Linked DNA regions of Homo sapiens: all the other regions are linked to region 4. Evidence: promoter capture Hi-C in 16 types of primary human blood cells and fetal thymus (Javierre and others, 2016). All regions are on one chromosome and are shown on one strand. The core of a region is centred on a gene start or on the middle of the fragment in contact, and the rest is flanking DNA. Distances in the headings are between cores, read along the strand shown.

Region 1 (3,703 bases), core at 1,155-3,654, 390 kb after region 4:
GAAGTCCCAGCTACTTGGAGGACTGAGGTGGGAGGATTGTTTGAGCTGGGAGGTTGAGGCTGCAATGAGCTGTGATTGTGCCACTGTACTTCAGCCTGGGTGACAACGCAAGACACTGTCTCAGAAAAGAAAAAAAGAGAGAAAAGGCTGAACTTACACATCTTTGTACTCTTTGAGGACTCGGTTTGTATAAAACATGGCGGCATCATTCATTTCTTTCACATAAGGGCCAGGCTTGGGAGCCTAGAGAGAGACAAGCTGTCAGTGACTCAGGACCTCTCCAACTATATTGCCTTCCCTCTTAAAATCTATACCCACCCCCAGCCCTGGAATCTGCGCTGCTCACCATAGCCACCCAGCCCAGGGCCTGGATACTTTCGCTGACAGCTGACAGGTGATTAAACAACTTGCTGCCTCGGTTCTTCTCCCGAAAGGTTATCACTTCTTTGATCTGCTCTGAGATGGGTGCCAACAAATCGGAAAGCTTATTCTAGGAAAAGATACAAGAAAAGATTCAGGTTAACATCTTTCCACAAAGGTGTCTATGCCTTCTGATCCTGAAGGCAAGAATTCTCTATGGACTCTAGTGAGCACCCAAATAAACTGCATGAGTCCTGTCCTGATTCCTAAGGCTAAAATACTGCTCATCATCTCACTCTCCTCGTAGAGTTCCAACTCCTCAGGCTGCACCTGATGGTTCTTCATGATCAGGACCCATACTTCAGCTATACCACAGAACCTCCATTTCAGCCACCTGTCTCTTTTTTGTTCCACTCAGAGGACATACACTCAGGACATCATTCCTGTGCCTTACTCATGATGTTCTCTTTTTTTCCCATGAATCCAAATTTTCCTCATGCTTCATGAGGGCCCTCCAACCCAGCCACACCAGCCTCCTACAGCATTTGTTGTCAGCATAACCAATCTTGGCATTTTATCACTCACCAATACAAACTATTAATGGACCCATGTGAATATGTTTTACTTTCTCATTAATTCTTCAAAGACGAGCTCTTTTATCATCATGAAAGCCCCCAATGCATTGCCAGCCATATAGTAGCTGCTGTAAAGAACTGATGAATCAAATGCAATTAGGGGGCTTAGTCTGGGCATGGTGACCCACGCCTGTAATCCCAGCACTTTGGGAGGCCAAGGCAGGAGAACTGCTTGAGACCAGGAGTTCAAGACAGACTGAACAACACAGCACAACTTTGTCTCTACAAATAATAAAAAGAATTAGGGCCAGGCATGGTGGCTCACGCCTGTAATCCCAGCACTTTGGGAGGCCAAGGTGGGCAGATCGCTTGAGTCCAGGAGTTTAAGATCAGCCTGGGCAACATGGGGAAACCCCATCTCTATAAAAATACAAAAATCAGCTGGGCATGGTGGCGCATGCCTGTAGTCCCAGCTATTCAGGAGGCTGAGGTGGGAGAATCACTTGAGCCTGGGAGGTGGAGGTTTCAGTGAGCCGAGATCCTGCCACTGCACTCCAGCCTGGGCGACAGAGAGAAACTCCATCTCAGAAATAAATAAATAAATAAGTAAGTAAATAAGCAAGCCAGGCATGGTGGTGCACACTGTAGTCAAGGCTACTCAGGAGGCTGAGGTGGGAGGATCATTACACCTGGGAGGTCAAGGCTTCAGTGAGCTGTGATTGCACCACTACCCTCCAGTCTGGGTGACAAAACAACACCCTGTCTCAAAAAAAAAATTTTTTTTTAAACATAAATAAAATAAAAAACAATTAGGGGCTTAGCATTCAAGTAGGCACCTTGGCAAAATGGATGAATTTTGTTTGTGTTTGCACCCTTCCTCCAAAGCTCCATTTCCTGAACATCTCAATTCTCAGATCTTAACCATTCAGGACAGATTAAGAATTAAAATCTAATTCTACATATTAGAATTAGATGGCATCTATACACACACACACACACACACACACAATGTTTTTTGAGAGAAGGTCTTGCTCTGTCGCCCAGGCTGGAGTGCAGTGGTGTGTTCATGGCTCACTGCATCCTCAAACTTTCAGGCCCAAATCTTCCTCCCATTTCAGCCTCTCAAGTAGCTGGGACTATACGCATGCACCACCTTGCCTGGCTATTTTTATTTATTTTATTTTTTTAATTTTTAATAGAGACGAGGTCTTGCTATGTTGCCCAGGCTGGTCTCAAACTCCTGGCCTCAAGTGATCCTCCTGCCTCAGCCTCCCAAAGTGCTGGGATTACAGGAATGAGCCAGCACACTTAACCAGAATCTAATATATTTGACATTATCTTGCACTATTTTTATATTATCTAGGCATGCTGAGGGTCAAGGGTTTTAATACAGCATTTAGGACAACTTGCTTTATTATTCCTCTGTAACTAGGAAAACCAAATGCAAAAGAAGGAAACCTATATTCTTTGACTCCAAGAGAAATCTAAATTTTCTCTAATTCAACTTTTCACATCTTGCACCATAAAATTTTGAGGTGGGAGTAAAATTAAAGAGAGAGTCTCCCAACCAGTGAAGGATGAGGAGAGAAGCAATACTGTAGGAGTTTTAAGATCTCCACAGGAGCACTACTAAAGCCCATCCACAGTGAAGCAAGAGAATCATCTTTAAAGGGCTTTGGAGACACTATGATGAATGTGGACTCAGCAAAGAGGCAGGCAAGCAAAGTCCCAGGGATAACCACAGTCCTATGCAAAATGACAGAGAAAAAGCCAGTAGAGACCATTAAGTACCCAATAGTACCTTCCCATTAAGGCACTTGAAGTATGGCTCTACCTCTGGGACTTGGTATGAACATATATTATCAAAAGCCTAGTAGGTCTATTTTAAAATGTTATAATAGCTTGACATAAATCTCTCAACTCGTCCTGAGCATCAAACCAAAATGAAACCAGCTAGTAGTGAACTTACTTCTGCTGGCTGTTGACACTGAGAAGCTGTAACCAACAGAGCTCGCTCCAACTTCAAACCTGTGTGGACCATCTCCGCCTGCCAGAAAGAAGAATCAGCTATTGATGACACATTATAACTAGAGAAGTCTTGATAAGAATAACCTGAAACCTCTACTTCCATGTACTCTGATAGCAACCCAGGCACTTCATGTTATCCTCCTCATGTATTCCAGATTCCAGGGACTGAGAGCAGAATTACATACACTACTGTTCCTATTGGAACTCATCAGGGATATATATCCAGAGTTGGAAGTGAAGTTAATTGGATAATCACCTAGCTTACATGAAGTCATGTTAGCATCTTACACATGCATTGTGATACCGTGCACTGAAAAATCCTTCCTATTTCACATCAGCAAAATAAAACAAACAGCAACCAAAAAAACACCTTTCTTTTCTCAAAAATTGGAGACAGGAGTAAAGGCAAAGGCCTAAATTTCTGCTGAAAATTCTCAAGGTATTTACTCCTTTAGATTAAAGCTATCTCTCAAATGCCAGATACCATGACCCATTAATAAATAATTAAATCAATTTAGTGAGCTTAATGGAACAAAAGTATGAGTGCAGTGCACCAACTTCAAGTTATTTCCAAATAAAAAGTTAAAAAAAAAAAAAGTACAGCAGAAGTAGTATAAATATCATCTTGTGAAACTTTTATCTCAGTTACGAATATGTTCTTTCTTTCTAAGGGTCATTCGCAGTCAAAAGAATTTAAGAAACATGAGACTGTAAGCACTATTAAAATACAAAAATTCAAA
Region 2 (2,960 bases), core at 22-2,521, 370 kb after region 4:
AGAAGTTCTGTTTTTTTTGGGAGGCAGGGCCTTTGAGATTCAGTTCCCTTTAGGGAGGTTGAAATTCATTTGCCTTTCTTCCCTTAAGTTCTTTCCCTCTCCTAGTGTTGAAACACACAGGATAAGCTCGGCAGGTTGCTGACTGGGCGAGGTGGAAATTCACAGCTGCTGTCTTAATGAGGGAAGCTTTCCTGATGGATCAGTCTGGGGGTGGATTTTTCTCTAGAGATTTACCTAAAAGAGAGATACAGTAGGCACTGAGTATGTCCCAGACACAAACATGGTTTGGTAGGTTCTGGTAAACTAGATGGCTCAGTTTATATTTGACTCATCTGGAGAGTCTTTTGGTTTTTTGTTTTGAAACAGTTTGAAGGGAAAAACAAACCAAACAAAAAACAACACAGAATAGTATATAGCAGAACGACCCAGAATTTGCAGTTTCTTATTTTGTCTTGGCTTTCTCTGACTAGAAGCCTCTCACCTATGTGATGGACACCTATGGAGTGTGGTGTAAACTCATAGTTGTACCTGTATGCCATGCTCAGTGGCATGTCAGTCAGATAGGATGGTAAGAAAAGCCTATAGAAGGCCGGGCGTGGTGGCTCACGCCTGTAATCCCAGCACTTTGGGAGGCCGAGGTGGGCAGATCACTTGAGGTCAGGAGTTCGAGACCAGCCTGGCCAGCATAGTGAAACCCTGTCTCTACTAAAAATACAAAATTAGCTGGATGTGGTGGCGATCACCTGTAATCCCAGCTACTCTGGAGGCTGAGGCAGGAGAATCGCTTGAACCTGGGAGGCAGAGGTTACAGTGAGCTGAGATGGTGCCACTGCACTCTGGCCTCGGTGACAGAGCGAGACTCCATCTCAAAAAAAAAAAAAAAAAAAAAAGGAAAAGAAAAGGCTGTGTAAGCAATCCCGTGACTGGGTATATACCCAAAGGAAAACAAATTGTCCTGCCAAAAAGACACTTGCACTCGTGTTTATTGCAGCACTGTTCACCATAGCAAAGACATGAAATCAACCTAGGTGCCCATCAGCGGTAGACTGGATAGAGAAAATGTGGTACATATACACCATGGAATATTACACAGTCATAAAAAAGAATGAAATCCTGTTCTTTGCAGCAACATGGATGCAGCTGGAGGCCGTTATCCTAAGCAAATGAACACAGAAACAGAAGACCAAATATCACATGTTCTCACTTATAAGTGGGAGCTAAACATTGGGTACACGTGAATATAAAGATGGGAACAATAGACACTGGAGACTCCAAAAGCTGGGAGGGAGAGGCTAGGGCTGAAAAACTTCCTGTTGGGCACTGTGTTCACTATCTGGGTGAAAGGATCAACAGAACCCCAAACCTCAGCATCACACAATATACCCTTATAACAAAACTACACATGTACCCCCCTGAATCTAAAATAAAATATTTTGTTTTTTAGAAAAAAAGAAAAAAAAAAGCTGTACAGGTATATCCTGGTCAGGAAGCTGGAAAACAGCCCATACCCATGGGGAAGAAACACAGTGGCACAGGGTCAGGGAGACCAGAAAACAGGAAGGCTTTACTCCCTCTGCTGGTGTCTGATGGTAATGACCTTAGGTGTTGCTGGCCTTTCTTTCAGGGTATCAATGAGTCCTACAAGAAAAACCTGATGGCCCTGAAGAAGTTTGTGATGGTGAAATTCCTCAATGATTCCATTGTGGACCCTGTAGATTCGGAGGTGAGACACTACTTAGGCCACATGCCAGGAGAGTAAATGGCATTAAAATAGGGCTGCTGGCCGGGCACGGTGGCTCATGCCTGTAATCCCAGCACTCTGGGAGGCCAAGGCGGGTGGATCACCTGAGGTCAGGAGTTCAAGACCAGCCTGGCCAACTTGGTGAAACCCCATCGCTACTCAAAATACAAAAAGAAATTAGCCGGGTATGGTGACAGCCATCTGTAATCCCAGCTGCTTGGGAAGCTGAGGCAGGAGAATTACTTGAACCCAGGAGGCAGAGCTTGCAGTGAGCCAAGATCGTGCCACTGCACCCCAGCCTGGGTGACAGAGCGAGACTCTGTCTCAAAAAGAACATAAAATGAAATTGAAATGAAATGAAAAAATACAGCTGCCTGCTGGGGAAAAAACCTTCAGTCCCTTCCACCAACTTTTGTATAAAACAGTTCTTCACCTGAGGTCCATAAATGGGACACTGAAGATTGTAATCAATCCCCCAACCCCAAAATTCTATGCAAAATTATGTAATTACATTCTCTGGGGAAGGATCTATAATTTTAATCCATTTTCCAGAGATCAGAGACCCAAAAAATGTTCAGAATCACTAGCCCAAAATATATAAATTCCTAAGCTTGGCCTCCAAGGTCTGCCTTGATCTGGCTTCACCCCATTTTCCAGCCTAATCTGCCTTGTCTGCACGCTTCATACACTCTTGATCAAGCCATATTGTACTACTTGTGCTTTTTCTCTCGTATGCCTTGGTTCATATATTTCTGTCTCTAGAATGCCCTTCCTTGGCTTCTCCACCTGACAATTTCTATTCGTCTGTCAAGGCAAGGATGCCATCCCCATTCCAAGCAGAATGTGATCGCTTTTTTAGAATCATCAGCCTCTGTTAAAACACTCATCACGTTATGTCACACCACCAGGGATTGGCCGATTGTGGCCCACAGGCCCAGTCCATCCTGCTACCCGTTTTGGTGCTACCCACGAGTAACACCAAACACTAACATAAAAGAATGTTTTTAACATTTTTTAATGGTTGGGGGAAAGAATTGGACATATAAAGATTATGTAAAATTTATTTAGACATATCAAGTATTTGGACATATAAAGATTATGTAAAATTTAAATTTCAGTGTCCTTATTGGAACAGTTTTAGTTACTTTTTACATACTGTCTGTGGCTGCATTTGTTACAGTGGCAGCAATGAGTAGTTACAACCATATGGCCCTTAAAG
Region 3 (3,540 bases), core at 800-3,299, 330 kb after region 4:
ACTGACAAGACTCCATCCTCCAAAGAATATCTTGGTTAGAAGTATTTAATTGTTCTAGGTTCTGGAGATATGGCAAAGCATAAGATTGAATCCCTGCTCTCTCAAAGCTTACATACTAGAACTGTGTTGTCCAGTACAGTAGCCACTGGCCACATGTGGCTATCTAAATTTAAATCAGTTAAAATTAAATTAAATTAAATTAAAAATTCTTTTACTCATTCACACTAGCCACATGTCAAGTGCATAGGAGTCATATGGTAACTAGTGGCTACTATATTGGACAGCTCAAATATAACAATACTTCCATCATTGCAGAAAATTCTACTGGTTAGTCCTCCTTTAGACAGAAGAGTTTGATAATAATCAAGTAAACAAAAATGGACAAGAGTAAACATTGCTCTGAAGAAAATAAAAAACAGTGCTGCCTTGTATTGTAGACTGATGGTCTTGGGAAGGCATCTCCGAGGGACTCCCATTTGAGCTGAAAAACTAATGACAAGAATGAGCCAGTCATGCAAAGATTTGGGTACAGAATGTCTCAGGAAGAAGGTGAGGCAACTGTAAATGCCATTGAGGTAGGATGTGAAACTCATCTCCAGAGGCAGGGCTTGAACCTCGGACCAGATAGAGAAATAGCTAAAACAGGGAAAAGTCCAAAGCACCTCTCTGTAAGACACTCCCACTAGTGTGCCATGTCAGTTTACCATTTCCATGGCAACGCCCGAAGTTACTGCTCTTTCTTTTCTTTCTTTTTTCTTTCCTTTTTTTTTTTTGAGATGGAGTCTCGCTCTGTCACCCCGGCTGGAGTGCAGTGGCACAATCTTGGCTCACTGTAACCTCCTCTTCCCGGGTTCAAATGATTCTCCTGCCTCACCGTCCTGAGTAGCTGAGACTACAGGCATGTGCCACCATGCCTGGCTAATTTTTGTATTTTTAGTAGAGACGGGGTTTCACCATATTGGGCAGGCTGGTCTTGAACTCCTGACCTTGTGATCTGCCTGCCTCAGCCTCCCAAAGTGCTGGGATTACAGGTGTGAGCCACCATGCCTGGCCAGTTACCACCCTTTCCATGGCAATGACCTGACGACATTTTTTCTAGAAAATTCTGCATAATATTCCCCTTAATTTACATATAATTAAAAGTCAGTATAACGACTACTCCAGAACTGCCACTGAGCTGCTACTGTGGGCACACTGCCTATGGCGTAGCCCTGCTCCTCAAGGAGCAATACTACTGCTGCTGCTGCAGCTGTACACGGCCACTTCAATAAAAGTTGCTAACACCACTAGCTCGCCCTTGAATTATTTCCTGGCAAAGACAAAACCCTCCTGGGCTAAGCCCCAATTTTGGGGCTTGTCTGCCTTGCATCACCATGAAATGGGAATAAGCCTGGGGTATTTCAGAAACAGAAAGAAGATCATTTTGGCTAGAATTTTGTAAGCAAAGAGGAGAGGGGCCTGAGATGAGTTTGGAGAGATAGGTAGGAACAGACTCTGTAGGGCTTCCAAGGCCACAGTGTGGGGTTTGGAATCATCCTCTTTCTGTTTTCAGAGGGTGGTTAACCAGATGCTGCCTTGAGGTCTGCAGATAAGTTTATACTTTTCGTTAGGTTTTTTGAGGCCATGAATTAGATATTCAGGCACCTGAGACCCTGGGGCACAGCAGAGTTGAAGAGCCTGACAATGGTTTTGGAATTGAGCAGAAGATGGTGTCAGAAAAGTTGGGCTTGCCAAAGACAAATAGGAAGAATTGGGGTATCAGCCAGCAGCACCCACAATCCCACTATCAGATGAGGCAATAGACTCACTCAGGCAAGTCAGTGCTTTCACAGGGCGACAGAGAGCTCCTCTGTGCTAGCTCCTAAAGGAGTAGTCAATACATGGTTATACCCATTTTGTTGGTCCCACCCTAAGCACGAACCTTTTGAATATTAAAGGGACACAGCATGGTTTAGGCCAGCACTAAGCGTAGGAGAAACTATAGGTGGGCAATGAGAGAGTAACATCCCCTCATCCTGGAGTGTTCAAAAGCAGAGCCATCTTCTACCTTTATCTAAGACCCATCCATTCGATCATTTATTCTCTCAACAACTCTTGGTTGTGTGCTTCTGCTCTGAATTGTTTTAGTTGTCAGGAATATAGTATTAAATAAGACAAGTTCTTTATGTCACTTACAAAGCAGGTCATAAACAAATGGATATATAATATAATGTTAGGTGGAAAACGAAATGGTAAAGAGGATCAAGAGTGATAGGAGCATATACAACTGGCCCTCCATATCTGCAGGTTCTCTATCAGCAGATTCAACCAACCGGGTATGGAAAATATTTGGGGAAAAAAAGAGCGTGGTTTTGTCTGTACTGAATATGTATGGACTTTTTTTTCTTGTCATTACTCCCCAAGCAATATAGTATAACAACTATTTACACAGCATTTCCATTATATTAGGTATTATAAGAAATCTAGAAATGATTTAAAGCATATGGGAGGATGTGTATAGGTTACATGCAAATACTATGCCATTTTATGTGAGTGACTTCAGCTCCTTGGACTTTGGTATCAGAGGAGATCCTAGAACCAATTCCCCACGGATACTGAGGGATGACTATATATTGCTTGGGGAAAGCTCTAAGGAGGTGACCTTCGAACAGATATCAGAATGAAGTGAGGGTGAAAAACACGCAAATACTTGGAGGAAGAGCAGTTCAGGCAGAAGGAACAGCAGATGTCTTGAGGTGGGAGTCGACCTGGTGGCCTCATAGAAGCAGGAGGCCAGTGTGCTAGAGCTCAGTGAATGAGGGGTGGCCAGGTGAGGGATGCAACCAGAGACATAAGGCTGGGGGTGTGGATGTAGTTAAGGACTTAAGGGCCTTGGAGATCATCATAAAGATATTTGGTTTTCTTCTTCTTTTTTTTTAGAAGGAGTCTCACTCTGTCACCCAGGCTGGAGTGCAGTGGCATGATCTTGGCTCACTGCAACCTCCACCTCCTGGGTTCATGCGATTCTCCTGCCTCAGCCTCTCGAGTAGCTGGGATTACAGGCGCCTGCCTCCACGCCTGGCTAATTTTTGTATTTTTAGTATAGATGGAGTTTCACCATGTTGGCCAGGCTGGTCTCGAACTCCTGACCTCAGGTGATCTGCCTGCCTCAGCCTCCCAAAGTGCTGAAATTACAGGTGTGAGCCACCGCTATTGTTTTTAAAGTCATGGCGCCAGAGGACATTATCTAGGGAGTAAGTATAAACAGAGAAGAGACCGCAGGACTAAGGGGTGACACTCTACCTTTAGAGGTTAGGAACAGGAGAAACAAGTAGAGCAAGAAGACAGAATAATATTTCATTGTATGCATAGACCACATTTGTTAACCTATTCATTCTTCGATGAACACTTAGGTTGTTTCCACATTTTGGCTATTGTGAATAATACTGCTGTGAACATGGGTGTTCAAACATTTCTTCAAGACCCTGCTTTCAATTGTTTGAGTATATATCCAGAAATGGAAATGCGGATCATATAGTAATTCTATTTTTAATTTTCTGA
Region 4 (3,743 bases), core at 409-2,908:
TTTATTTTTGAGACAAGGTCTTGCTCTGTCACCCAGCCTGGAGTGCAGTGGCGCCATCTCAGCTCACTGAAACCTCCCCTTTCCTAGTTCAAGCGATTCTCGTGCCTCAACCTCCCGAGTAGCTGGGATTACAGGCATGTGCCACCACGCCCAGCTAATTTTTGTATTTTTAGCAGAGATGGGGTTTCATCATGTTGGCCAGGCTGGTCTCAAACTGCTGACCTCAAACTCCTGGTCTCAAGCAATCCGCCCACCTTGGCTTCCCAAATTGCTGGGATTACAGGCATGAGCCACCACACCTGGCCTCTTTCTACCTTCATTATTGGCACGCATTTTCTGTAAAAAGCTTTCCCTCACCAACTGAAGAGGATCTAAAAGGCAAGGTAAATGCACATTCATTCCCATAATAACCTATTTTTCAAAGTAAGGAATCAGTGTATTAATTACCTCCAATGTTTGCAAATGAATTCCCCCCCCCCCACGTCTTTCTCTATTTTAAGTGTCAAGGTGATCATGTGGAATTTTACTTATTCAAGGTGTTACCATCAGTTTGGATACTTAAGCTTTCCCAAATCTGTCGAGTGAGAGACCCTTAAACCTGGCCTCTTTTGACACATATCCATAGTCTTTAAGCTCTTCCTTGCTTTCTAGCACAAGTTACTCCAGGCTCACCTGGTACTTCCCCTGCTGCTTCTCTTTCTGACCTAGCCACCAAGTTCCTGTGTGACCCTGGGCAGGCCTCCCATTTGATTTACATTTCCCCACTGTTAGAATAAGAAAAATCAGGTTAAGTCCATCCTGCCCCACATGGCCATGGGAAAGATGAAAATAAATAATATACATAACCATGACACTGAAATACTGGTCCTAGGCTGAAAAGACCACCACTACTTAGGAAAACCCCAGACTAGGAGCCACAATCAACAACTCCGGAAACCCTCCACCCACTCGTCTCCCTAAGAGATGCTTCCACTCAAGTGACTCATTCCTTCTCACACTAGAGGGGACTGCTTTTCCTCCCTCCCACCCATCAGTTTATTCTTACCTTCTGCTTTAAACATCTTAGTCACATCCTCCCACAGGGCCACCCGCTCCGTGGCCGCCTTTGGATGACGCAACTTCACCCAGGTGCTGGCCTCGGTGGGCAGGGTGATCAGGAGCTGCTGCAGCATGACGGCGTCCGCACTCCTTTCTGAGGACCCTCTGTCTTAGCCCATAGGGCTTGTCCACCTCTGATGAGGAAATTGCTGGAAGCTCTGACAGGAGGCTTCCCAATTGTACCGATCTCCTTAATCGCCGACTCCTACTCCTCAATGTCCTCTCTCAGGAACCCAGGGAACATACAGTATCAAAATCCGAGATCTGGACTTGTGTCTATCATCGGCTCTCAGGGCGTATCTCCCAACTTGAGCTCCATCTGTCTCCTTGGCCAGCAGCTGGAGGCGCCAAGTATTTACTCTCAGCAGCCCCTGCAGATGCTGAGCAGAAGACATTAGAATCAGCAAAGGACTAAGGAGGCTCAGTCATAGGGCAGAACGCTAGAACATATATGGATCACTGTAAAATGTTTCCAAAAGATACACGGAGACGGTGGGCAGACACAGCCCACAAAATTCAAAGCACCGCGCACATGTCAGGAAGCACAAAGAGACGAATACAACCCAATTCTTTGTTTGGGGCAGTAATTATGTGTAAAGTAGCCGGGGATTTGGAATCCCAGCTCTTTCACTAGTCGGCTGTAGCAAACCGCGAAACCGCTAGACCCCGCCTCCTCCTCCCCAAATGAGAGGCTAAGTCCTCCCCACAAAGCAAAACGCCCCCGGCCCTAGCCTCCCAGCCTTTGTCTGAGCACGACTCCGGGGCTGCGGAGAGCACCGCGCGCGACAGGGTGGCCGCGGGCGGAACTCGCGCTTCCCGGCTCGCCCAGCTCCCCAAGCCCGGGACAGCCACCCGCTCACCCTCTCCCCGCTGGGCCGGCACGCCCCCGCCTTCCCACCGCTGCAGCCGGGTTCCGGCACTGCGCGGCCAAGCTCCCACGTAGCGCTGCGGCGGGCAGTCGGGGCCCAGTGCGCCTGCGCAGCGGCTGGCTAGAGCATGGTTCCCAGCGTCCTCCCGGGGAGCCGCTCCGCCAGCGCAGACGCCCCCACCGGTGCGCGCCGGGTTGGCTGCGTTCAGGGGCTCCCAGTATCCGATCCCTGCGAGCATCATCAGCCTGGCTCCTGCGGGAGGAGATGGAGCCTGCGTTCTTGGGCCCCAGACTCTGATGAAGAACAACCATCTTTCCTCCGCTGGGAAAATGCACGTGAACGTTAGGGTGAGCCTTTGAAACCCGTGACAAAAGGGAGCCATCGGCATCACGTTTTTTGGTGAAACGACACTGGTGTAAAATAATCCATAGCACTTTCCCTAAATATTATGTACATGCCAGTTATTTATTCTCAGCAGACAGTTGAATGGATTCCGGTATATTGTTAAAAGAATACCACAACAGTTTTCTCTTCTAGTATTCAATAAAAGTTCTCATGTTTATTGCTTACCTTGTATTTCTGAAATGCCAGAAAATACACAAAAACAAAAAAATTATTGCCTGTAATTTCAGCAAGCAGCGGTAACCTTGCTAACAGTTGGTGTACAACCTTTCCTGCACACACACAACGTATTTCATGCATTGTTATATATTTTCCACAAAAGCGATTATACTGTAATGCTGTTTTATTGCTGAGTTTTCTCCCTCCAACAAAATTTGAGTACATCACTCCAAATACATTTCTACATCAACAGTTTACAAAAACAACAAATGAGGAAATAGAATACAATTATAGTACTTGCTAGCTGTTATGAACCGAATGTTTGGATTCCCCAAAATTTATCTTGAAGCCCTAACCTCCATTGTATTTGGAGAGTATTTAGAGATAAGGCCTTTATGGAAGTAATTAAGGTTAGAATATAGTCCTAGTCAGAAACGAACCCAACTCGACCTTACTTGGGGCTTCTAGTCTCCACACTGAGAAAATAAATTTCCGGTTTTTTGTTTGTTTGTTTGTTTGTTTTTTTGAGATGGAGTCTCGCACTGTCCGCAGGGCTGGACTGCAGTGGCGTGACCTCGGTTCACTGCAACCTTCGCCTCCTGGCTTAAAGCGATTCTCCTGCCTCAGCCTCCCAAGTGGCTAGGATTACAGGCGCCCGCCACGACGCCCAGCTAATTTTTTGTATTTTTAGTACAGACGGGGTTCCACTATGTTGGCCAGGCTGGTCTCAAACTCCTGACCTCGGTGTCTGCCCGCCTCGGCCTCCCAAAGTGCTGGGATTACAGGCATGAGCCACTGCGCCCGGCCAGATATCCGTGGTTTAAGCCACCCAGTCAATGGTATTTTGTTACAGCAGCCCAAGCTGATGAATACACTAGCATATAATAGTTACAGAATATGAGGCTCTGTCCTAAGTGCCTTTCATATTTTAACTTATTTTGTCATCACAGAAACCACTGGAAGTAAGTACTATTATTATTCCCACTTTACAGATAAGAAAACTGAGATTTAGAGAAGTTGAATAACTTGCCAAGATCATGTGGCTTACAAGTGGTGAACACAGGCAGTCTATGTTCCTATCTGCTACTCAACAAAAATACAGCATGAAATACAATAAAATGTTAATGGTAGAATCTAAGTAGTGGTATAGGGATGCCGTAATGTAAAATTCTTTCAATTTTTCTGTATATGTATATGTTTTCATAATAAAATATC
Region 5 (3,558 bases), core at 297-2,796, 260 kb after region 4:
TGGGTGAAACCCCGTCTCTAAAAATACAAATATTAGAGATGGGCGTGGTGGCGCGCGCTTGTAGTCCCAGCTGCTCAGGAGGCTGAGGCAGGAAAATCGCTTGAACCTGGGAGGCGGAGGTTGCAGTGAGCCAAGATTGCGCCACTGCACTCCAGCCTGGCGACACAGCAAGACTGTCTCAAAAAAAAAAACCAAAAAACAAAAAACAAAGAAATTTATTAAAATCTATGTTACAAAAAAATTCTGGTTTAGGTCAGTAAGTTACTTACTGTCTGCATTGGCTAATCTAAGAATTAAGGAGTTTCAAAAATTTATATTTAGTGCCAGATTTATGTTCCTTAAAGTCAGACATTATGTCTCATCAATCCTTATAGGCCTACCACTCCTCTACCCACTTCCACCCCCACAGGACATTCTCAAGTCTCACTAAATGTCTGCTGAATACATTCACCATTTTATTCATTTGACAAATATTTTTCAATAGATTATCACACATAAAGTGCTAGATGCAGTGGGGGCGGGCAGACATGTGGCCTATCCTCACAGAGCTTTCAGAATGAGTCAATACAACATGATGGCTGAAACCACACATGCAAATTAACCAACTGCTAACTAAAGTATGCAAAGAGAAGGACAGAGTGCATACAGATGGGGTTAGTCTTTCCACAATCCACCTGTCCACTTAGAACGCTCTTGCCACCAATCTAATAGCTTCTGACAGACATTCCACCAGGACTTCTGTAAGCTACACAATTTCAAAGATTCAATACTCTTGAGGAACTTCCAGTTTGCTCTATACTAATTTATACTTTTTATATTCCTAAATCTTTACCCCCTCATGTGTTGGTTCAAATTAAGTAGTGAGATCTCTTATACCCACTATAAGCATACTCTGGGTATGTGAAGAATGGCTGGAATAATCAATCTTCTTCATTATCACTTTTTTTTTAAATTGAGATAGAGTCTCATTCTATCACTGCTGGTGATCCTCCCACTTCAGCCTCCCAAGTAGCTGGGACTACAGGCATGAACCACTGTGGCTAGCCAGGCATTTTCTTTCTTTCTTTTTGTTTTTTTAATCAAGTCTCACTCTGTCACCCAGGTTGGGGTGCGGTGGTGAAATCTCGGCTCACTGCAACCTTCACCTCCCAGATTCAAGTGGATCCTTTCACCTCAGGCTCCTGAGTAGCTGGGATTACAACTGTGCGCCACCAGGCTCGGTTAATTTTCCTGTTTTTAGTAGAGATGGGGTTTCACCATTTTGGCCAGGCTGGTCTCGAACTCTTGACCTCAAGTGATCCGCCTGCCTTGGCCTCCCCAAGTGCTGGGATTACAGGCAAAAGCCACCTCGCATCCAGCCTTTGTGGTTTTTTTTTTTTTTTTTTTTTTGCTTTTTTTTTTTTTTTGAGACAGTCTCACTCTGTCAGCCCAGGCTAGAGTGCAGTGGCACGATCTTGGCTCACTGCAAGCTCCACCTCCCAGGTTCACGCCATTCTCCTGCCTCAGCCTCCCAAGTAGCTGGGACTACAGGCACCCGCCACCATGCCCGGCTAATTTTTTTTTTTTTTTTTTTTTTGTATTTTTAGTAGAGACGGGGTTTCACCGTGTTAGCCAGGATGGTCTCGAGCTCCTGACCTCGTGACCTGCCCGCCTCGGCCTCCCAAAGTGCTGGGAGCCACTGCGCCCGGCTTTTTTTTTTTTTTTTTTTTTTTTTTAATGCAAGATTAGGTTGAAAGGATTACAGCCATCCAAATAACAGGATGGCTGTAATCCTTTCAACCTAATCTTGCATTTAAAAAACTGGACTAGGCAAGGTGGCTCACGCCTGTAATCCCAGCACTTTGGGAGGCCGAGGCAGGTGTATCACTTGAGGTCAGGAGTTCAGACCAGCCTGGCCAACATGGTGAAACCCTGTCTCTACTAAAAATACAGAAAGTAGCCGGGCGTGGTGGCGCATGCCTCTAGTCCCAGCTACTTGGGAGGCTGAGGCTGGAGAATTGCTTGAACCCGGCTAGAGTTCAGTGGTTCAATCACAGCTCACTATAACCTCAAACTCCTAGGCTCAAGTGATCCTCTCTCCCACCCACCTCAGCCTCCTGAGTAGCTAGGACTGGAGAAGTGCATCACCATGCCCAGCCAATTAAAAAAAACTTTTTTTTTGTAGGGACAGGGTCTCTTTGCTGCCCAGTCTGGTCTCAAATTCCTGGGCCTCAAGTGGTCCTCCCACCTTGGCCTCTCAAAGTGCTGGGATTACAGGTGTGAGCCACTGTACCCAGCCACGGTCTCTTATTTTTCTTTAGGAACTGAAATCACAACTGAAGAGAAAAGGGGCAATAAATGATAAAGATGACCTCCTAAAGTTCATTCTACAGTGACCAAATTAATGACCTCTCTCTTTTGTTTCAGTAAACTCATTCCACAAATACCTACTATTTTGTACTGTGCTGGGAAGTAAGGATGGAGACTCTATTCCTGCCCTTGAAAGGCTATGATATATACTAAGGGGTCAGATATATAAGTAAAAAATTAGCTCACTTACGCACCATATTTGACTATTCGGTGCTCTCATTCACATCCCAAGCAGATTACCCTCAAATTACTCTCTCAAGTCCTTGCTATATACCTCAACTGCCTATTACATATTTCCATCTGGATGTCCTATTCAAATCTCAAACTCAGCATGTCCAAAACCAAACATCTTCCCCAGCAAATATGCTCTTCCTCCTATGTTCCATCTGCCTCCTTTCAGGAGCCAGAGCTAAAAAACTATCTTTGAAACCACCACACCAAAGTTTGTTGATTCTATCTCAGAAATATCTTTGTCTCCTGTCCCTATGCTTTATCTCTGTAGCCATTCACCTAAACCAGGCCCCCAATATCCCTCATCTAGACTGCTACATTGGTTCACTTCTCTAGGCTAAATAACCTCTAGTTCTGTATATGTGTTATAATCACGTATGTCTGTACATTGAAAAAATTAATGTCCAAGGGGAAAATGACTAGAAGAAATTAACTAAAATGCTTACATGGTTAGCACTGAGGTAGCAGGAATATGAGCAATTTTTGTCATCTTTATACTTTTCTAAACTTCTCAAATTTTCTTTAATAAGCATGACTACATTTTCAAAGCAAAAAAAATCTCCCCTCACCCTTAATTCTCTCTACATTTCTCACTACATGGTTTCAAGGAGCTTGGCAGCATTCTGACTATTCCTTGAAACTATCAAGAAAGGAGAATTTCTTTCAGGATGGTCACATTTAATGTTTAAAGAATACATTCCAATTTAAATTTCACATAGTTCAGGATTAACTTTCCTAATGAAATAATTATATTTACTGAGCACATAGTATGGGTTAGGCACTTCCTAAGAGCTTTACGGCCACTAAACTTATTTAATATGCACAACTCCATGAGCTAGGAGTTATTATCAGCCCATTTCAAAAATGAGGAGCCACTGTCAAGTTGTCTTTTGGGAATTTTTTTTTTTTTTAAATGAGGAAACATGAGAGATTGAATTATTTGGGCAAAGTCATCCAATAGGTGTTAGATTCAGGATT
Region 6 (3,907 bases), core at 897-3,396, 310 kb after region 4:
GGTAGTAGCTTACAAGGTCAGGACAACTAGGTTCAGAGCCAAATAAATGGTTCTCATGGTCAGGAATGGCAGGGTCATGGCAAAGCCTGCAGCTCAAGGTCAGGGTCAGTAAGAATGGGGCCAAGGAGATGGCCCATGTGGTCAGGAGATTGAGCAAATAAGAAAATATATTGAGAATAGTGAGAGCCAGGTTTCTTACTCTTGGAGACAATAAGTATGAAAAGGGGAAAGACTAGAACAAACCCTGTAATTAGAGTCAGAGGTGTGAGCCTATAGGGTGTGTGTGTGTGTGAATATTATATATGATATACAAAGAGAGACAGAAGAGTAGATGTGTGTGTTTATGATATGTATAGTGGCTTTTTGGTTTTTCAAAACACACTAATTTGTAGCATTTGCTGATTTCCACGGTGTAAATACTCCCAGCATGAAATAATACTAGTTTCACAGCCACCCGCAAAGTTCCTGAATATTTAACAAGCAGCTTTTGCAAGTCCATATGAGCCAACTCCACTACAGTACTTCGGAATGTACATCATACGTATGATTGTGTGTGTGTGTGTCCAGACATATTTTTCCTAGTTGATATCTTGTTTCCTTGTCCTACTGAAAGGACTTGCAAGACCGACACACCCATAGCAATGAGTGCACCTAGCATCTACATCTTGACTTCCAAGTATCATTCTTCACTAAAAAGAAACCAAAAGTTCTTAGAGAAATGGCTGATTTCATGACTAGGGCAGTGAAAAATCTTACTGGTTCAGGAAGAAAGGAAGTATTCAAAGAATGAGGATGTAGTAAGCTAAGTAATGGCCCCTGAAGCTCTAATCTCTGGAATCTGTAAATATTATCATATACAGAAAAAGGATCTTTAGAGATATGATCAAGGAACTTGAGATGGGGAGATTGTCTTGGATTATTCAAGTGGACTTTAAATGCAAACACAAGTATCCTTGTAAGAGAGAGGCAGAGAGAGATTACGCAAAAGGAGAAGGCAGGAGGCAGAGACTGGAGTGGTGCAGCCACAAGCCAAGTGCCAGCTGGAAGCTGGGAGAGGCAAGGAACGAATTCTCCCCTAGAGCCCAGAGGAAGCATGGCCGTGTTAATATTCCTGATTTGGGCCCAGTGAAGTTGATTTTGAATGTCTGGACTTCAGAACCATGAGAACTGCAGCTGTTTTAAGCCACCGAGTTTGTGGTACACTGTTACAGCAGGCATAGCAAACTAATACAGATGAGAAATGTCAAAAGAACACAGGAGCCAGTGTAAAGAGGCTCCCACTGGCCAAATCAGGGACAATCTAGTCATCAAAGTAAATTATGATTGTAAGGAATTATAACTTATTGAATAAATTGGGAATCCTTAAGCCCACACTAATATAAATAAAAAATTAATTAAAAAGGATACAGGAGACCAGGTCCAGTGGCTCATGCCTGTAATCACAGCACTTTGGGAGGCTGAGGCAGGCAGATCACTTAAGGTCAGGAGTTTGAGACCAGCCTGGCCAGCATGGTGAAATCCCATTTCTACTAAAATTACAAAAATTAGCTGGGTGTGGCAGCGTGCACCTGTAGTCGCAGCTACTCAGGAGACTGAGGCATGAGAATCTTTTGAATCTGGATGGCGGAGGTTGTAGTGAGCCAAGATCTCGCCACTACACTGCAGCCTGGGCAACAGAGCAAGACTTGGTCTCAAAAAAAAAAAAAAAAAAAAAAGAGGATACGGGAAAGGAAATGATACTTTACTATAGAATTCAAGTAATAAATGTAGAAGAAACAATGGACATAGGAAAATCTCTATTTGGTGGCCATTATAGTAATAATCCAGGCAAGAATCATTAATGGATGCTAAAACTACTAGGTGTAAATTCGTGTATATTTATGTGTGTGTGTGTGTGTGTGTGTGTGTGTGTGTGTGTGTGTATATATATATGGAAAGAGAGAGAGAGAAATAAAGAGATAAGGAGGCAAATATGATAAAATGCCTCTGGTGGAGATTCTTCAGGATTCTCTGTACTAATCTTGCAAATCTTTTCTAAGTGTGAAATTATTCAAAACCATTTTTTAATTGTGGCAAAATATACATAAAATAAAATTTACCAACCTGTCCGTTTTTAAGCATATAGTTCAATAGTGTTAAGTACATCTGCATTGTTGTGCAACCAATCTCCAAAACTCTTATCTTGCAATCTAAAACTCTATACCCATTAAACAACTCCCCATTTCCCTTCTCCCCAGCCCCTAACAACCACTATTCAACTTTCTGTCTATAAATTTGACTACTAAGTACCTGATATAGGTGGAATCATACAGTATTTGTCTTTTTGTGACTGGCTTAGCGTAATGTTGTCAAGGTGCTACATCCATGGTATAGCATATGTCAGGATTTCCTTCCTTTTTAAGGTGGAATAATATTCCATTGTATGGATATATCCTATTTTGCTTATCCATTCATCTGTTGATGGACATTTGGGTTGCTTCCATGTTTCAGCTATTGTGAATAATGCTGCTCTGAACATGGGTGTACAAATAACTCTTCAAGACCTTGCCTTCAATTCTTTTGGATATATACCCAGAAGTATCAGTGCTGGATCATATGAAAATTTTATGTTTAATTTTTTGAGGAACTGCCATACTGTTTTCCATAGCAGCTGCACCATTTTTCTCTCTTTTCTTTTCTTTTCTTTCTTTTTTTTTTTTTTTTTTTTTGAGACAGAGTTTTGCTCTTGTTGCCCAGGCTGGAGTACAATGGCGTGATGCTGGCTCACTGCAACCTCCGCCTCCCGGGTTCAAGTGATTCTCCTGCCTCAGCCTCCCGAGTAGCTGGGATTACAGGCACCCGCCACCACGACCAGCTAATTTTTGTATTTTTAGTAGAGATGGGGTTTCACCATGTTGACCAGGCTGGTTTCAAACTCCTGACCTCAGGTGATCCACCCGCCTTGGCCTCCCAAAGTGCCGGAATTACAGGTGTGAGCCACCGCGCCCAGCCAACAGCTGCACCATTTTTCATTCCCATCAACAGTACACAAGGATTCTGATTTCTCCACATCCTCACCAAAACTTGTTATTTTCTTCATATTTTTGATAGTGGCCATCCTAATGCGTATGAGATTGTAGCTCGTTGTTTTGATTTGCGTTTCCCTAATGATTAGTGATGTCAAACATCTTTGCATGTGCTTTTTGGCCATGTGCATATCTTCTTTGGAGAAATAACTATTCAAGCTCTTTGCCCTTTTTGTTTTTTTTGTTTTTTTTTTTTGCGACGGAGTCTTGCTCTGTTGCCCAGGCTGGAGTGCAGTGGTGTGATCTCAGCTCACTGCAACCTCCACCTCCCAGTTCAAGCAATTCTCCTGCCTCAGCCTCCCATGTAGCTGGGATTACAGGTGCACGTCACCATGCCTGGTTAATTTTTTTGCATTTTTAGTAGAGACAAAGTTTCACTGTGCTAGCCAGGATGGTCTCGATCTCCTGACCTCATGATCCTCCTGCCTCAACCTCCCAAAGTGCTGGAATTACAGGCGTGAGCCACTGTGCCCAGCTTATTTGCCCAATTTTTAATTGGGTTGTTTGTTTTGCTGTGAGAACTCTCTGTATATTCTGGATATTAACCCCTTATCAGATATAGGAGTGCAATTATTTTCTCTCATTCTGTGGGTTGCCTTTTTACCCTGATTGTGTCCTTTAGAGCATTGTTTGTTTGTTTTTTGAGACAGTTTCACTCTTGTTGCCCGGGCTGGAGTGCAATGGCACGATCTCAGCTCACTGCAACCTCCGCCTCCCAGGCTCAAGCGATTCTCCCATCTCAGCCTCCTGAGTAACTGGGATTACAGGCGCCCACCACCACACCTGGCTAAATTTTGTATTTTTAGCAGAGACAGGGTTTCTCTATGTTGGTCAGGCTGGTC
Region 7 (3,813 bases), core at 198-2,697, 350 kb after region 4:
GTCTCCAGATCTTTTTAAATATTTATTTTCTTTCTTTTTTCTTTCTTTCTTTTTTTTTTTTTTAAGATGGGGTCTCGCTCTGTCGCCCAGGCTGGAGTGCAGTGGCTCGATCTTGGCTCACTGCAAGCTCCGCCTCCCGGGCTCACACCATTCTCCTGCCTCAGCCTCCCGAGTAGCTGGGACTACAGGTGCCTGCCACCACGCCCGGCTAATTTTTTGTATTTTTTAGTAGAGACGGGGTTTCACCGTGTTAGCCAGGATGGTCTCGATCTCCTGACCTCGTGATCCACCCGCCTCAGCCTCCCAAAGTGCTGGGATTACAGGCGTGAGCCACCGCACCCAGCCTCTTTTTTCTTGGCAATGCTTTGACCTTTCAGTGATAATGTACAAATATATAAATACACAGATGTCTTCTTTAAAAAAAGAACAGCTTTATTGAAATATATTCCACATGCCATAAAAGTCACCCATTTTATGTGTACAAACCAATGATTTTTAGTAAATTTATAGAGTTGTACAACCATCATATATGTATGTACATAAATACATAGTTATTTTCTTATGCCCTGTTTAACTTACTCTCCCAGTTCTAAAATGTACTTACCTACTTACCTATGCCCACAGCATGCCCACATGGCTAGAGGCTGCTTTTCAGAACTCTTGGGTAGTTCTGTTCCTGTCAATTGAGCTACTTGCTTACTAAATGCCTTTGGGCTTATTTTATTTATTTATTAATATATCGGTGATATTTGCTATCATAATTTAGTTAAATTTTTGAAAACATGAAATATGAGCATAAAGAGAAAAGAGATGTTTCTGTGAAAACTAAGTTGAATGCATTGGAAAAGCTTGTTAAAGGCAAGTTGTTAAAAAAAATTGTTAAAGTAACTCTGGGTCGGAAATCTGAGAGTGGAAAGTCTTCCATCTAGAATAATTTCACATCCAAACACTGTGGCTCACACCTGTAATCCCAGCACTTTGAGAGGCTGAGGCGGGAGGATCCCTTGAGCCCAGGAGTTCCAGGCTGCAGTAAGCTATGATTGTGTCACTGCAGTCCAACTTGGGGAATAGAGCAAGACCCTGTCGCAAAAAAAAAAAAAAAAAAAAAAAGTCATCATAGCACTATTCATAATAGCAAAGACATGGAATTAACCTAAGTATCCATCAACAGTAGACTGGATAAAGAAAATGTGGTAGGTATACACCATAGCATACTACACAGCCAAAAAAGGAATGAGATAATGTCCTTTGCAGCAACATAGATGGAACTGCTTAGGTCATTATCCTAAGCAAACTAATGCAGGAAAACAAAACCAAATACCACATGTTCTCACTTATAAGTGGGAGCTAAACATTAAGTACAGATGGACACAAAGAAGGGAACAACAGACACTGGGGCCTACATGAGGGTGGAAATGAAAAGTTACCTATTGGGTACTATGTTCATTATGGCAGTGACAAAATAAAACGTACACCCAACCTCCTTGACATACAACTTACCTATATAGCAAACTTGCATATGTGACCCTGAATCAAAAATAAAAAACAAAAAGAATGTTGGTCTGGCACAATGGCTCACAGCTGTGATCCTAGAACTTTGGGAGGCTGAGGGGGGCGGATTGCCTGAGCTCAGGAGTTCGAGACCAGCCTGGGCAACATGGCGAAACCCTGTCTCTACAAAAAACACAAAAAATTAGCGGGGCATGTTGGTGGTGTGTCTGTAATCCCAGCTACTCGGGAGGCAGAGGCACGAGAATCGCTTGAACCCGGGAGGTGGAGGTTACAGTGAGCCAAGATCACGCCACTGCACTCCAGTCTGGGGGACAGAACAAGACCCTGTCTCAAAAAAAAAAAAAAATTGCATTCAGATTGCTTCACAAGTGTCTTTCAGTTATTGCTCCAGTTTAAAGAAACCTTTAAAGAAATTATAAATAGTTCATTAAAGGCAGGAAACTTCATTGAGCGGGCTATATTCACAGAAAAATCCTGAAACTACTTCAATTTGTAAGTCTTAAGTTAAAATAAAATGCTTATACAATAAGCTTATTTTTCTTAAAACAAAACTGTATACTGTACTGTATAATGCTTTATGATTCTGCATTTTTTTTTCTTTGAGACAGAGTTTCACTCTTGTTGCCCAGGCTGGAGTGCAGTAGCTCAATCTTGGCTCACTGCACCCTCTGCCTCCTGGGTTCAAGTGATTCTCCTGTCTCAGCCTCCTGAGTAGCTGGGATTACAGGCACCCACCACCATGCCCGGCTAATTTTTTGTATTTTTAGTAGAGATGGGGTTTCATCATGTTGGCCAGGCTGGTCTCAAACTCCCAACCTCAGGTGATCCACCTGCCTCAGCCTCCCAAAGTGCGCCCAGTGGATTCTGCATTTTAATCGACTTTTCAACTAACAACTTACCTCTAGTCCCAATGGCATGGAATAGAAGAGATTACAGACCGTGGGTTTGTAATCGACTTTTCTTTTACAACATATTAAGGGCATTTTTCATGTCACTTTATGTAAATTTACCTCATTTTTCTTTTTTGAGAGAGACAGGGTCTCACTGTTGCCCAGGGCAACAGCGAGATCATAGCTCAGTGCAATGGCGAGATCATAGCTCAATGCAGCCTTGAACTCCTGGGCTCAAGTGATCCTCCCACCTTAGCCTCCCCAGTAGCTAGGATTACAGGCACATACCACCACCCCTGGCTAATTAAAAAAAAATTTTTTTTTTGTAGAGATGGGGTCTTGCTATGCTGCCTGGGCTGTACTCTCTTTTTATTTATTTTTTATTCTTATTTTTTGAGACAGAGTTTTGCTCTTGTTGCCCAGGCTGGAGTACAATGGTATGATCTCAGCTTACCGCAACCTCTGCCTCCCGGGTTCAAGAGATTCTCCTGCCTCAGCCTCCTGAGTAGCTGGGATTACAAGTATGCGCCACCACACCCGGCTAATTTTGTAATTTTAGTAGAGACGGGATTTCTCCATGTTGGTCAGGCTGGTCTCGAACTCGCTACCTTAGATGATCTGCCCACCTCAGCCTCCCAAAGTGCTGGGATTACAGGAGTGAGCCACCGCGCCCGGCCCTATACTCATTTTTTATAAAACTGGCCTCATATTATTCCATTGTATAGTGGATACACTCTAATTTCTTTATAAATTATTTAAACTATTTTTTGATGTTTTGTTGAAAAAAAACTTGAGCAGGGAACTGATATTATGAAGGTGGATTGAGGGATGAATGTGGCAATAGAGCATAAAATGAATTAAAGAGGAGAGAATGGAAAAGGAAATGGTTGATGAGAGACCCTTGAAATAATCCAGCTGAGATTAGGCCAGTTAGTGGCCATGGGTTTCCCCCTCACTCTTATGCATCCAACATATGCTTTCGTCCGTCTTGAAGTCCCGACATTTCTAGAAAACACAGTTGTCTTTCTCCTCTCTACCTTAGCTCATCTCAGTCCTTCTGAATTTCATCTTTGCTTGTTGAAATCCTACCTCTCCTTCAATATCCAGAACAAACCCCACACCCTGCCATGATTGGTCCTGGCTGGAAACCGTCCCTCCTTCTTTCTTCCTTCCTCTGTGCATGTTTCTTGCAAAGGCAGTACAGGGCAGTGGTGAAGAGCAACGACTTTGGAACCACCAATTTGCTATCTCTGTGACCTTGGGCACCTTACTCAGTGCCAATTCGCAGTGCCTCAGTGTCCTCACCTGTCAGGGGGAGAAGTGCATACAGCATTGTTATGAAGAGTGAATTAGTTAAAGGTTGTAAGAATAGTGCCTGATAGCATCTGATCAGCACTGAATATATGTTAGC

Evidence for each region. The method cuts DNA at HindIII sites, captures the fragments that hold promoters and counts their contacts. A CHiCAGO score of 5 or more calls a contact.
Region 1: a contact is called between a fragment that was not itself captured here and the fragment with the promoter of ZFP69B in region 4, in 1 of 17 cell types (total CD4 T cells). The highest score is 6.2, in total CD4 T cells.
Region 2: a contact is called between a fragment that was not itself captured here and the fragment with the promoter of ZFP69B in region 4, in 2 of 17 cell types (total B cells and total CD4 T cells). The highest score is 8.0, in total B cells.
Region 3: a contact is called between a fragment that was not itself captured here and the fragment with the promoter of ZFP69B in region 4, in 5 of 17 cell types (total CD4 T cells, neutrophils, naive CD8 T cells and 2 more). The highest score is 9.0, in total CD4 T cells.
Region 5: a contact is called between a fragment that was not itself captured here and the fragment with the promoter of ZFP69B in region 4, in 6 of 17 cell types (neutrophils, total B cells, naive B cells and 3 more). The highest score is 7.3, in neutrophils.
Region 6: a contact is called between a fragment that was not itself captured here and the fragment with the promoter of ZFP69B in region 4, in 12 of 17 cell types (total CD4 T cells, naive CD8 T cells, total B cells and 9 more). The highest score is 16.0, in total CD4 T cells.
Region 7: a contact is called between a fragment that was not itself captured here and the fragment with the promoter of ZFP69B in region 4, in 3 of 17 cell types (erythroblasts, naive B cells and naive CD8 T cells). The highest score is 7.3, in erythroblasts.

The regions. Positions count from the first base shown.
Region 1 is chr1:40,061,014-40,064,716 of GRCh38, reverse strand. CAP1 (cyclase associated actin cytoskeleton regulatory protein 1) reads right to left here. Exons shown (of 13, transcript NM_006367.4): 4 at 2,905-2,982; 5 at 347-490; 6 at 158-243. Among named protein-coding and RNA genes, the nearest start is that of CAP1, 22 kb to the right of the region's middle. The HindIII fragment of the contact is 3,835 bases long and covers 487-3,703 here.
Region 2 is chr1:40,077,323-40,080,282 of GRCh38, reverse strand. PPT1 (palmitoyl-protein thioesterase 1) reads left to right here. Exons shown (of 9, transcript NM_000310.4): 7 at 1,625-1,723. Among named protein-coding and RNA genes, the nearest start is that of PPT1, 18 kb to the left of the region's middle. RefSeq lists a silencer at 1,480-1,529. The HindIII fragment of the contact is 2,165 bases long and covers 189-2,353 here.
Region 3 is chr1:40,117,503-40,121,042 of GRCh38, reverse strand. No RefSeq gene overlaps it. Among named protein-coding and RNA genes, the nearest start is that of PPT1, 22 kb to the right of the region's middle. The HindIII fragment of the contact is 3,880 bases long and covers 110-3,540 here.
Region 4 is chr1:40,448,391-40,452,133 of GRCh38, reverse strand. It overlaps ZFP69B (ZFP69 zinc finger protein B), which reads right to left and starts at 1,658. Exons shown (of 5, transcript NM_023070.3): 1 at 1,046-1,658. The coding sequence starts at 1,172. It overlaps ZFP69B-DT (ZFP69B divergent transcript), which reads left to right and starts at 2,095. Exons shown (of 5, transcript NR_198977.1): 1 at 2,095-2,314. RefSeq lists an enhancer at 365-1,564 and a silencer at 1,780-2,039. The HindIII fragment of the contact is 15,908 bases long and covers 566-3,743 here.
Region 5 is chr1:40,183,675-40,187,232 of GRCh38, reverse strand. The region is part of intron 1 of RLF (RLF zinc finger); the gene reads right to left. Among named protein-coding and RNA genes, the nearest start is that of RLF, 24 kb to the right of the region's middle. RefSeq lists a silencer at 498-687. The HindIII fragment of the contact is 6,433 bases long and covers 1-3,558 here.
Region 6 is chr1:40,137,388-40,141,294 of GRCh38, reverse strand. No RefSeq gene overlaps it. Among named protein-coding and RNA genes, the nearest start is that of RLF, 22 kb to the left of the region's middle. The HindIII fragment of the contact is 6,332 bases long and covers 1-3,907 here.
Region 7 is chr1:40,097,473-40,101,285 of GRCh38, reverse strand. No RefSeq gene overlaps it. Among named protein-coding and RNA genes, the nearest start is that of PPT1, 2.1 kb to the right of the region's middle. The HindIII fragment of the contact is 1,194 bases long and covers 851-2,044 here.